Regions from separate parts of the Homo sapiens genome. Here region 1 is linked to region 2. The links are contacts of gene promoters, found by promoter capture Hi-C in human tissues and cell types (Jung and others, 2019). All regions are on one chromosome and are shown on one strand. Each heading gives the region's core, a stretch centred on a gene start or on the middle of the fragment in contact. The rest is flanking DNA. Distances are from core to core; before and after follow the strand shown.

Region 1 (5,446 bases), core at 1,322-3,821, 160 kb before region 2:
ATCCTCTCCCTCCATCCTAAAGAGTGGAGTGTCTTTCGCTGAGCTTGCTTCACTCATGGGGACTTCGGAGAAACTCTCCTCCTGGGAGGGGAGGAGGAGGTGATCCGCTGGGGAGGCTGGCGCACCACACGTCGCTGGCCCAGGTGTGGTCACCGATTCCCTTTCTGAGTCCTCTGCGTGGGGAGACTCAGGAGGCTCTCCGTCAGACGCGTTTCCAGCAACAGACCATGCAGGGTTCAGCTCCTGGGGACAACTGCTGTGTCCTTCCACCAGCAAGGCAGCCCCCGCCACTGCCTCTTCCGTGAAGAGCTGCTCAGAAAATGACACACGCTTCTTGGTTTTCTTCTGGTCCTTGCGGAGGTTCAGACCCATCTCTTCCAGCTTCCGCATCATGGAATCAATGGAAGGGACTGATGCTCCCATGGGAAGAGGGGGCGCCACTTCTTCAGCTGCATCCCTGGCTTTGCTCTCCACAAGAGACCCAGCCTGACTCTCCAAGTCTCTGTCTCCTCCTGCTGCAAGCTCCCCAACAGGGCTCACAGCTCCATCACTGCTGAGTGAAAGGGCAAACGGTACTTCCTGGGCTTCTCCAGATGATGGGCTGTAGTCTTGTTTTTTGCAGGGGAATCTCGGAAGTTCTTCCTCTTGTCGCCCTGTTTCAGGCTGCTCTGGGAGAGACTCCTCCAACTCAAGGCTGCTGGTGTTCTTCTCTGTGCCTGTCTCACGGGTCCTGCCCATCAGAGAATCTTCTGTCCCTTTATTTGCTGGAAAGGATGGCTGTTTGAAAAGTGATCCCAGGGCAGAAGAACCAGAATTTGGAACCGGTGTTAAACTCTCAGTTTGCAACTCTGCCTTAGGGAGCAAGGGTGGTCCTTCAGACTTGGCCTGGCCCCTGTCTACGAGAGGCCAGCTTTCAATTGGAGTGGATGTGGAAATGGGAGCTGCTATGGGAGATGAGAGAGAGGAGAAGACAGAAGGACTCTCAGAGGACTGTGTGTCTGCACCATGTCCCAATTCAGAGGGGACAGATGCCTGGCCAGAGCTAGAAGGAAGAGGAGGAAGAGAGGAAGGGGAGTCAGTAGGGGAAGGAAGCCTGGCTGTGGGTTGCGCCTCTGGAGACACTTCCAGTCTGCAAAAAGGACAAAATAAAATCTGCAGGTCAGTGCAGATGCATCACGAGAGACAAAGAAAATACACAAAAACAAGTCATTCACCAGGGGAGAACGTCTTTACACGTGGGGCAGTACCTTAAGAAGTTAAAAAAGGAACGCTAGCCGGGCGCGGTGGCTCACGCCTGTAATCCCAGCACTGTGGGAGGCCGAGGCAGGCGGATCACCTGAAGTCAGGAGTTCAAGACCAGCCCAGCCAACATGGTGAAACCTCATCTCTACTGAAAAATGCAAAAATTAGCCGGGTGTGGTGGTGTGCACCTGTAGTCCCAGCTACTCGGGAGGCTGAGGCAGGAGAACTGCTTGAACCTGGGAGGTGGAGGTTGCAGTGAGTTGAGATCGTGCCACTGCACTCCAGCCTGGGCGATAGAGGGAGACTGTCTCAAAAAAAAAAAGGAACACTAACACTTAACATACACAACAGACACTTTTATAACCAAGCAGATCCGTCACACAAAAGTCTGTTGCAATAGAAATGAAAAGATCCCGGTAAAGCAATAGCCTCTGGTTTCTTGTGGTGATTAACACAAGGCCCGAGCATTTGATTATTACAGGACAAAATGCACCTAAAAGGTTTAAAGTGGTTAAAGATGTAACACAAAGCAACAGGCACAGATAAGTTTAAGAGGAACAGTGTGTATGTGTGTGTATATGTGTGTGTGTGTGTGTGTGCATGTCAAAGTAAGCAGAATCTCTAAAAAAAAAAATCTCACTCCCCAGACCGCAGAAATATTGTCAGTATGAATGTGATCACACAGAAAAGCAGAAGTCCCCAAGGCCAGTCCCCAAGGCTTATGCCGGCTCTTACAACAAGGGGCAGAGTGGACACAAAGAACCGTCACTGTCACTTGAGAGAGGACCGAGGGTCTCTCATACCAGAAACCAATGCCAAAAGGCAAGGAGGCAGGATAACATCTGGCTCAAAGGGAAATGTGAGATAAGAACTTCGAAAACACAGGTTCTGCATACACTACAACCCAAACTCAGTATTCCCAACTTGCAACACCCACAATCTGCTACAAACCACTGCGTTCCACTGAGATCTGATAAGCTGACTGAAAGGACAGACCATGCCTGCTGGGCAGTAGCTCTGAGCTGGGAAACATCACTGCAATTTATACAGGGCAGGCCAGGCTGGCAGTAGGGACTGGTTAAAAAAATAATTTAGACCAGCAAACCTTTGGCATATATGGGTACTATGATATCATGGGACCCACAAGAGCTGGTCTAACGTAAGCCTGAAAACCACCAATGGCAAGGCAGAAATGCCCTGCACGAGAAGAGCCAAAACTCACCGGGGCTTGACAGCTCTGGTCTGGGGAGCCCTCGGAGAGGAAATTGGAGGTCTCGGTTCAGACTTGGACTCTGGCTCAGCTTCTGGTTCTGTGATCTGCACATCTTCAAAGAGGTTCAGGGAGCTGCCCTGTCTGGAGACAACAGCTGCAGTATCTTTCTCAGATCTTCTCACAAGGTCTTCAGCAGGCCCCGATGCGTCCTCCCCCGGCTTAACCCCCATCAGCATGCCTTCCTTCTCCCTCCCTGGGACCGTGAGAGGGTTTTCACCTTCACTGCCCTTAGCCACATCCTTCTTCCCCGTCATCAGAGACAGCAAAGAGGACCTCCTGCTCTCTGGCTTCTTGCTCTCCTTAGCTTCTTTTGTGGCCTCTGAGTTTGCGGGGGCCATGTTTTCCCTGAGGTCCCCACTGACCAGTGGGGCAGGTCGGTAGGACGGCAGGGTCATAGACTTCAAGGAGTCCTTGGTGGAAGATTCGGAGAGCTGCCTGTCAGAAGACAGCCCACCTCCTTCAGCAGGCTCCTTCCAAGACCCAGCCGCCAGGTTCTCTGTAGAAGAGAACAAATGCTTCTTTCTGAAGCCCTTGGGGGATGGGGAGGAGGACGGGCTGCTATCCTTGATCTCACCCTTGGCTTCTGGCTGCTCCAGGTAAACATGGTTCCCATTGATGCAGACATTAGAGCGGGAAAGGACATCATTCTTAGACCGAAGGCCACCAAGAAAGGAAAGTCCTTCCTTCTTGGGAAGGGTAAAGTTGACCTGGTTCAGTTGCTTAAGATCCGTACTCGCTGTTCTCTTGTGAGACATGACTTTGGGAAGAAAAAGAACAGAAAGGGGATAAGATGTTAAACGGGTGGTTTGCAGTGTAGGGGCATCTGTCAACGTCTGGATACATTTCTGGTTGCCACAACTTGGAGGGGGTGTGCTGCTATTCGTATCCAGCAGGTAGAGGACAAGGATGATACTGAACATCTTACAACGTATAGCACAGCCCCCCACGACAAAGGCCTGTCTAGTCTAAACTGTCCACAGTGCTGAGGTTGAGAAACTCTGGGTTAAACCAATGAAAAGGGCAGCACTCTTGGTAGAGTAGCAGAATCCGGCCAATGGGAGGGATTTAGACATTGAAATTGAAGTTCAAAATACATAATTAACTCAGAGCTAAAGGAAGCAGATTCCTTGGCTTCTGATAAGGCTATATCCCACGAGGGTTGAGCACATCACAGGAACTCAATAACTACCTGATGAATTAATGAAATATCAGAATTACCATAAGGTTCCATGGTTTTACCCTTAAAAAAAAGAAAAAAAAAACTTGGAAGACACTCATTCTGTTAGCTCTAAAAGCTTGTACTAGTGGACATCATTTATAGAGCCAGGAACTCTGGAAAAGGAATTTATACATTCTTAGAAACCAGAGGGTATAATCCCAGCACTTTGGGAGGCCAAGGCAGGTGGATCACTTGAGGTCAGGAGTTCAAAACCAGCCTGGTCAACATGGTGAAACCCCAACTCTACTAAAAATACAAAAATTCACCGGGTGTGGTGGCACGGACCTGGAATCCCAGCTATTCGGGAGACTGAGGAAGGAGAATTGCTTAAACCCAGGAGGCGGAAGTTGCAAAGAGCCAAGATCGCACCATTGCACTCCAGCCTGGGTGACAGAGCAAGACTCCATCTCAAAAGAAAAGAAAAGAAAGAAAGGAAGGAAGGAAGGAAGGAAGGAAGGAAGGAAGGAAGGAAGGAAGGAAGAAAGAAGGAAAGAAACCAGAGGGCTTAGAAATAGAGAGGGCATCTCAGCCATGGGCAATGGTTCACACCGGTCATAAGAGCCCTTTGAGAGGCTGAGGCAGGAGGATCACTTGAAGCCAGGAGTTTCAGACCAGCCTGGGCAACATAGTGAGACCTCATCTCTAAAAAAAAAATTTTTTTTAATTAATCAGGTGTGATGATGCACACCTGTAGTCCCAGCTCCTCAGAAGGCCAAGGTGAGAGGATTCCTTGAGCCCAGGAGTTGGAGGCTGCCGTAAGCTATGATCGCGCCACTGCACTCCAGCGTGGGCAATAGAGCAAGACCCTGTCTCTAAAACAAACAAACAAAAAATATTTTAAAAAAAGAAACAGAGAGGGCATTTTTTTTTTTTTGAGACAGAGTCTCACTCTGTCACCCAGGCTGGAGTGCAGTGGCACGATCACAGCTTACTGCAGCCTCTACTTCCTGAGCTCAAGCAATCCTCCCAGCCTAGCCTCCTGAGTAGCTGGGACTACAGGAGTATGTCATCACATCTGGCTAATTTTTATATTTTTTGTAGAGACAGGGTTTCACCATGTTGCCCAGGCTGGTCTCAAACTCCTGGGCTCAAGCAATCTGCCTGCCTCAGCCTCCCAAAGTGCTGGGATTACAGGCGTGAGCCACCACGCCTAGCCTTAGAGAGGGCATCTTAACCACCGCTATCATCATCCCCACCACCATGATTTTGTAATTGAGGAATTGAATTAAACTCTTTCTCTTGAGATTTGTCTGTTTCTTCTCTCTCAGAACGAAGCATGGTAAGAGGAAGAAGAGAGGTCAAGCAGGAAGAGGCAGAAACTCACCATCCGAGGCCGAGGAGGACTCATCCTCATTGTCATCTTCATCCCACTGGGACTGAAAGTCTCCGGGACGAAGCAGCACTTTTTCTGGCTTTGAAGTCGGCAGGACAGACATGGACTGGGAAAGAGGCGTCTTCTGCAAATTTGACTTGGAAAGTAAGGTCTTGATCTTTGATTTCTTTTTCTTGTCTTTAACCACAGACTCATCATCACTGTCGACCGAAGGTGTCGTGCTAGGGATGATGGCGGAGGCGGTGTCTGACCCACTGTCCTTATTCTTCCCCTTGATCTTGTCCTTCAGCTTTCCAAATGGATTCCGAGACTTGTCTTTCATAGAAAGGTCAAACATGCTGGCAGTCATGTTGTTTCTCATAAACTGGATGTCAACCTC
Region 2 (5,421 bases), core at 1,554-4,053:
GTAGCTGGGACTACAGGCGTCTGCCATCATGCCCGGGTAATTTTTTTTTTTCGTATTTTTAGTAGAGATGGGGTTTCACCGTGTTAGCCAGGATGGTCTCAATCTCCTGACCTCGTGATCTGCCCCCCTCGGCCTACCAAAGTGTTGGGATTACAGGCGTGAGCCACCACACCCGGCCTGAAACTCTCTCTTTTTTGAAACAAGGTCTTACTATGTTGCCCAGGCTGGTCTCTGAACTCCCGGCCTCAAGCAATCCTCTGGCCTTGTAATCCCAGCTAGGGCTGGGATTACAAGTGCACATCGCTGCAACCAGCAAGGCCTGGTCTATTTTTATCTTATATTATTTATTTATTTTTTGAGCCCTGGCTGGAGTGCAGTGGTGCAATCTTGGCTCATGGCAACCTCCACCTCTGGGGCTCAGGTCATCTTCCTACCTCATCCTTGAAAGTAGCTGGGACCACAGGTGTGAGCCACAACACTGGGCTAATTTTTAAATTTTTTTGTAGAGACAGAGTTTCACCATGTTGCCCAGGCTTGTCTCAAACTCCTGAGCCCAAGCAGTCTGCTCACCTCGGTCTCCAAATGTGCTGGTATTACAGGTGTGATCCACAGCACCTGGATGAAATTAATTTTTTTTTTTTTTTTTTTTTGAGACGGAGTCTCACTCTGTCACCCAGGCTGGAGTGCAGTGGCAGATCTCTACTCACTACAACCTCTGCCTCCCAGGTTCAAGCAATTCTCCACCTCAGCCTCCCGAGTAGCTGGGATTACAGGCACCCGCCACTGTGCCCGGTCTGTTGTTTTTGTTTGTTTGTTTGTTTGTTTTGTTTTTTTGTATTTTTAGTAGAGACAGGGTTTCACCATCTTGGCCAGGCTGGTCTTGAACTCCTGACCTCATGATCCACCCGCCTAGGCCTCCCAAAGTGGTGGGATTACAGGCGTGAGCCACTGCACCCAGCCGAAATTTATTTTTTTTTCTTTTGAGACAGAGTCTTGCTCTGACGCCAGGCTGGAGTGCAGTGGCATGATTTCAGCTCACTGCAACCTCTGCCTCCCAGGTTCAAGCAATTCTCCTGCCTCAGCCTCCCGAGTAGCTGGGACTACAGGCATGCGCCACCATGCCCAGCTAATTTTTTTTATATTTTTAGTAGAGACAGGGTTTCACCATGTTGTCCAGGATGGTCTCGATCTCTTGACCTCATGATCCGCCTGCCTCGGCCTCCCAACGTGTTGGGATTACAGGCGTGAGCCACTGCGCCTGGCCCAAAATTAATTTTTATAATGTATTTTTCTTAACCCAGTATACTCAAAATATTATCAGTTCAACATACAATCAATATAGAAACAAATTATTCAGGTATTTTACATGATTTTCTTCACACTAAGTCTTTGAAATATGGTGTGTATGTTAAACTTGTGACAGTTTGGACTGGTCACATTTGGAGTGCTCAATGTGCACCTGTAGCTGGTGGCTACTGTCTTAGCCACTGTAGGCCTAAAGTTTCCCTCAAAAGTGAGACCAAACTCAACAGGTCTCCCTATCTCAGGCCTTGCCCTCCTTGGCCCATTCTGAAACTCCACTGGCTACTAGTTATCCTTCCAAAAAACAACTCAAATCATGTCATCCCCCTGCTTAAAAGATCTCTGATATCTCCTGCCCTTCTAAGACAAAGTCCAAGCACTTTGGCATAATTTGAAAAACTCAACGACCTGACCCCAATTTCCTTTTTAAAAAATTATTATATATTTTTTTAGAGATAGGGTCTCTGTCACAAAGGGTGGAGTGCAGTGGTGTGATCACAGCTCACTGGAGCCTCAAACCCCTGGGCTCAAGCATCCTCCAGCCTCAGCTTCCTGAGTAGCTGGGATTACAGGTGCACCACCCAATTTCCCTTTTAAACTGCCCTCCCCTCTTCACCCTCTTCCCCACAATATGTGCCCATAATGCTAAGAACTTCTCAAACCCAACAAGCTTTTCCATCCTCGGTCCTTCTTGCATTTTTCTCTCTCCCCTTGAACATCCATCCATCCATCCATCCATCCATCCATCCATCCATCCATCCAAGGAGTACCTACTAAACCTCAGGTGGACGTTGGACTCAATTCAGGGGCTATCGGGAAACCTCTTCGACACTCTTACTCCTCTCCAACGCCCTTCCCCACCACCCACCTCTGCGCCCCCAGCTCTAAATTTAGCTCCCAGGACGCCGCTGGTTGGTTCACTCCTCCTCCCACACCCTCTCTAAAGGCCGGGAACGGAATTGTTAGCCCCTCCACCCCCACCCCCATCAAGGTCAAGAAATTGAAGCGGGGCGGGGGGCGGTGAGCATAACTACTCAATCCCCATTTTCTCATCTGAGGAACTAAGGCACGAAACAGGGAGTGCCGAAGGGTACACCAGGCCTGATGTCCTAATGCAGAAACCGGGCCTTCCTGCAGTGGGCCGGGTCAGCTCGGATCTCCGCGCGGTCCTGAGTCGCCGCCCCCAACCCAGCCAAGGATTAATTTAGGCGAGCTATCCCGCCCGCCATCCCCATATCCGTCCCTGCCAGCGTGGCGGGGAGGGACCCCGGACGGAGGGGCAGTCGCTGCGGGGCGGCGCCAGCGCCCGTGCGGAAGAGCCCGTGAGCAGACGGGAGTGGGTCGGGGGGCGGCGGGGGATCCCACGTGGAAGCAGCGTCCTGGAGCTGGGTGGGGCTGCGGCGCGGACTACAAATCCCAGGGGCGTGGGGCGGGAGAGGCGGAAGGGGCGTCCTGGGGCGGGGCGGCACGGGGCGAGGCGGAGCGAGGCTGGAGGCGCGGGAGGGCAGCGAGAGGTTCGCGGGTGCAGCGCACAGGAGACCATGTCCGGGGGCAGCAGCTGCAGCCAGACCCCAAGCCGGGCCATCCCCGCCACTCGCCGGGTGGTGCTCGGCGACGGCGTGCAGCTCCCGCCCGGGGACTACAGCACGACCCCCGGCGGCACGCTCTTCAGCACCACCCCGGGAGGTAGGCGCGGGCTTGGCGACGCCGCTTGCCGGCTCCTGGGCGGGCGGGAGGATCGGGAATCGCGGATTGGACCGGGTGTCCAGGCTCAAGGGCGCCGTGATTGGAAAGAACGGAAAAGGGGCATCGGAGAGACAGCGAGGGTCATGGAAGTGGCCGCCCGCTTCCCCTCTGAGTGCGTCTTCCAGACCCGAGTTACAAACTGCCCCGTTTGTTTCCTCTTTCTGTTAGGTGTCAGACAGCTGACACCTAACAAACACGCACGCCTCCAGGACAGCCACATGCCGAGCTGTGCTGCCCCTTGTGGGTGTTGGGGGCGCTCCCGAAGCGGGAGAGGGCGGAGTTAGGGTGGCCCACGATCCAGGAGAGGCCTGGCCTGGTGTTTTTATGGGATGGGTATTATCTGTTGGGATAAACGATTCCTGCAGGGCCCTTTTTCCTTCCCGAAGCACGCCGAGTTTTGTGTTGGACTCGCGCGCTCTGACTGAGGTTCGGATCTGGGGGTGCTTGCCTGCTCCAGCAGCGCCTCCCGGGCACCTGTGGCACGTTCCCCATTTACGCGAGTGGGATCTCCGCGGGGGGGACCCTGGCGCCACGGCCAGGGCTGTGCAGAAAAACACGTTCTTCTGTCCGGGGAGAGGAGGAGGCACCGTGTGACCTCCCTGGGAGAGGATGAGGAAGAGGAAGCTGAGCTGGCACGGGTGGGGGGGCCAGCCTCGGGCTGCCCTCAGGAACCTGGCATTCCCTCCCAGCCCCGGAGCCCCAGCGCACAGACGCTGATGAAACCTACGCGCCTGTTTGCATGATGAAATAAATCCTCGTGGCTCTCTCCTCCCCTCTCATTGTCGCACTGCCCCCACCCCTTTTTGCTCCTCTCCCTTCATTCTCCTCCACGCTGCTTTCCATACTACTAGAAAACGCGACAGATCCTGGCGCTTGGCTAGGTGGCGGGCGGGGGCCACATGCTTATTTTCTCAGGCAGCTGTCCCACCAGCAGCGAGCGCGGCCAGATCCGAGGTCCTCTGCTGTTTGATCCAAAACATACACTGTTAGAACGGTTAGGGATCTTGTCCAGCCCTGCCGTCTTATTCTACAGAGCCCGGCATTGAGGCCCCAGAGCTTGAACACGTGTCTGTTGCCCATTGTCACACCGTTTTCCCAGATTGGACAAGAAATAGCAACCAGGCAGAGAAGGGAGAAATGCTTCCTTTTCTATTAGAAATGAGCCAAGGAAAAGCTCGCAGGGGCTCTTGTTGCCATTCCCGACTCATCCTCTTTCCCTTGCTGGGTCTTTTGTAGTCCATGCTGTTCTCCTTTGTCTCTGTCACAATGGTCTACCAGGACAATTCCTGACAATTTTGGAGTTCTTTCAAATGAGGGTGTAAGTGTCTGCTGGATTTGTTCAGGGTGGGCCCTGAGGCCGGCCTGAAGGCGCAGGTAGCCCTTTTTTGCACTCTTTATTGCTGGATTGTTGGGTCAAATTGGAAGCCAGGATACTGTTTATAGGCACTTCTGGCCCGGGTACCAAGGTTCACACCTGTAATGCCAGCATTTTGGGGAGCCAAGGCAGGAGAATTGCTTGAGGCCAGGAGTTCAAGACCAGCCTGGGCAACATAGTGAGACTCCATCTCTACAAAGAAACAAACAAAACAACAACAAAATGTTGTCCTAGCTACTACAGAGGCTGAGGCCAGAGGATCGCTTGAGCCCAGGAGTTGGAGGCTGTAGTGAGCTATGATTGACCACTGCACTCCAGCCTGGGTGACAGAGCGAGACCCTATCTCTAAAATAAATAATAAATATAAAATATAGGAACTTCAAATCCACTTTTCACTTTGGGTTGGGAAGTGGGGAGTGGGCAGGGGGCTGACAGACCACAGCAAATCCCCTTCCCTTTGAAGGTCTTTAGCAGTAGGGGGAGTGGGGAAGGGACTTCTGCATCAGGGCATAGCATATGTTTCTGAGATCACTGGAAGAAGCTAGCAGTGCCAGGAGCCTAAAGCCAGCTCACTGTTTGGTCGTCCAGTGGAGCAGGTACAGCTCACAGTCCCTAAGCCAGGGAAACCTGGCTGACTTCCACTAAAGTCAAGCAAGCCTGGTCGGCCTCGATTAGCCAAGGTGTGGACTCTTCCTCCAAAGCCCACCTCAGCCCACCTCTGCCAGGGCAGAGAAGCCAAAATGGTCACATTGCAGCCAAAATGGTCACACCCTTTTGCTCCAGAGCAGAATACTGCCTCTCAGTCTTCCAGGTGCTTGAGGATAACTGGGGGCTTCATTTAAGTGCATATTCTGATTCTGTAGGTGGGGGTGGGAACTAGATTCAGCATTTCTTTCTTTTCTTTCTTTCTTTTTTTTTTTTTTTTTTTTGAGACAGGGTCTCACTCTATCACCCAGGCTGGAGTGCAGTGGCGCAATCTCAGCTCACAGCAACCTCCA

Evidence for each region. Contacts are between HindIII fragments. The study calls those that stand out against the background at their distance.
Region 1: a fragment that was not itself captured here is called in contact with the fragment with the promoter of EIF4EBP1 in region 2 in 2 of the 25 tissues and cell types used here (IMR-90 fibroblasts and mesenchymal stem cells).

What each region holds. Positions count from the first base shown.
Region 1 is chr8:37,872,051-37,877,496 of GRCh38, forward strand. It overlaps RAB11FIP1 (RAB11 family interacting protein 1), which reads right to left. Exons shown (of 6, transcript NM_001002814.3): 2 at 5,059-5,446; 3 at 2,465-3,272; 4 at 1-1,129. Among named protein-coding and RNA genes, the nearest start is that of RAB11FIP1, 25 kb to the right of the region's middle. The HindIII fragment of the contact is 6,711 bases long and covers 1-5,446 here.
Region 2 is chr8:38,027,731-38,033,151 of GRCh38, forward strand. EIF4EBP1 (eukaryotic translation initiation factor 4E binding protein 1) reads left to right here and starts at 2,804. Exons shown (of 3, transcript NM_004095.4): 1 at 2,804-2,988. The coding sequence starts at 2,844. RefSeq lists a silencer at 2,585-3,024 and enhancers at 2,601-2,895, 3,525-3,624. The HindIII fragment of the contact is 9,944 bases long and covers 1-5,421 here.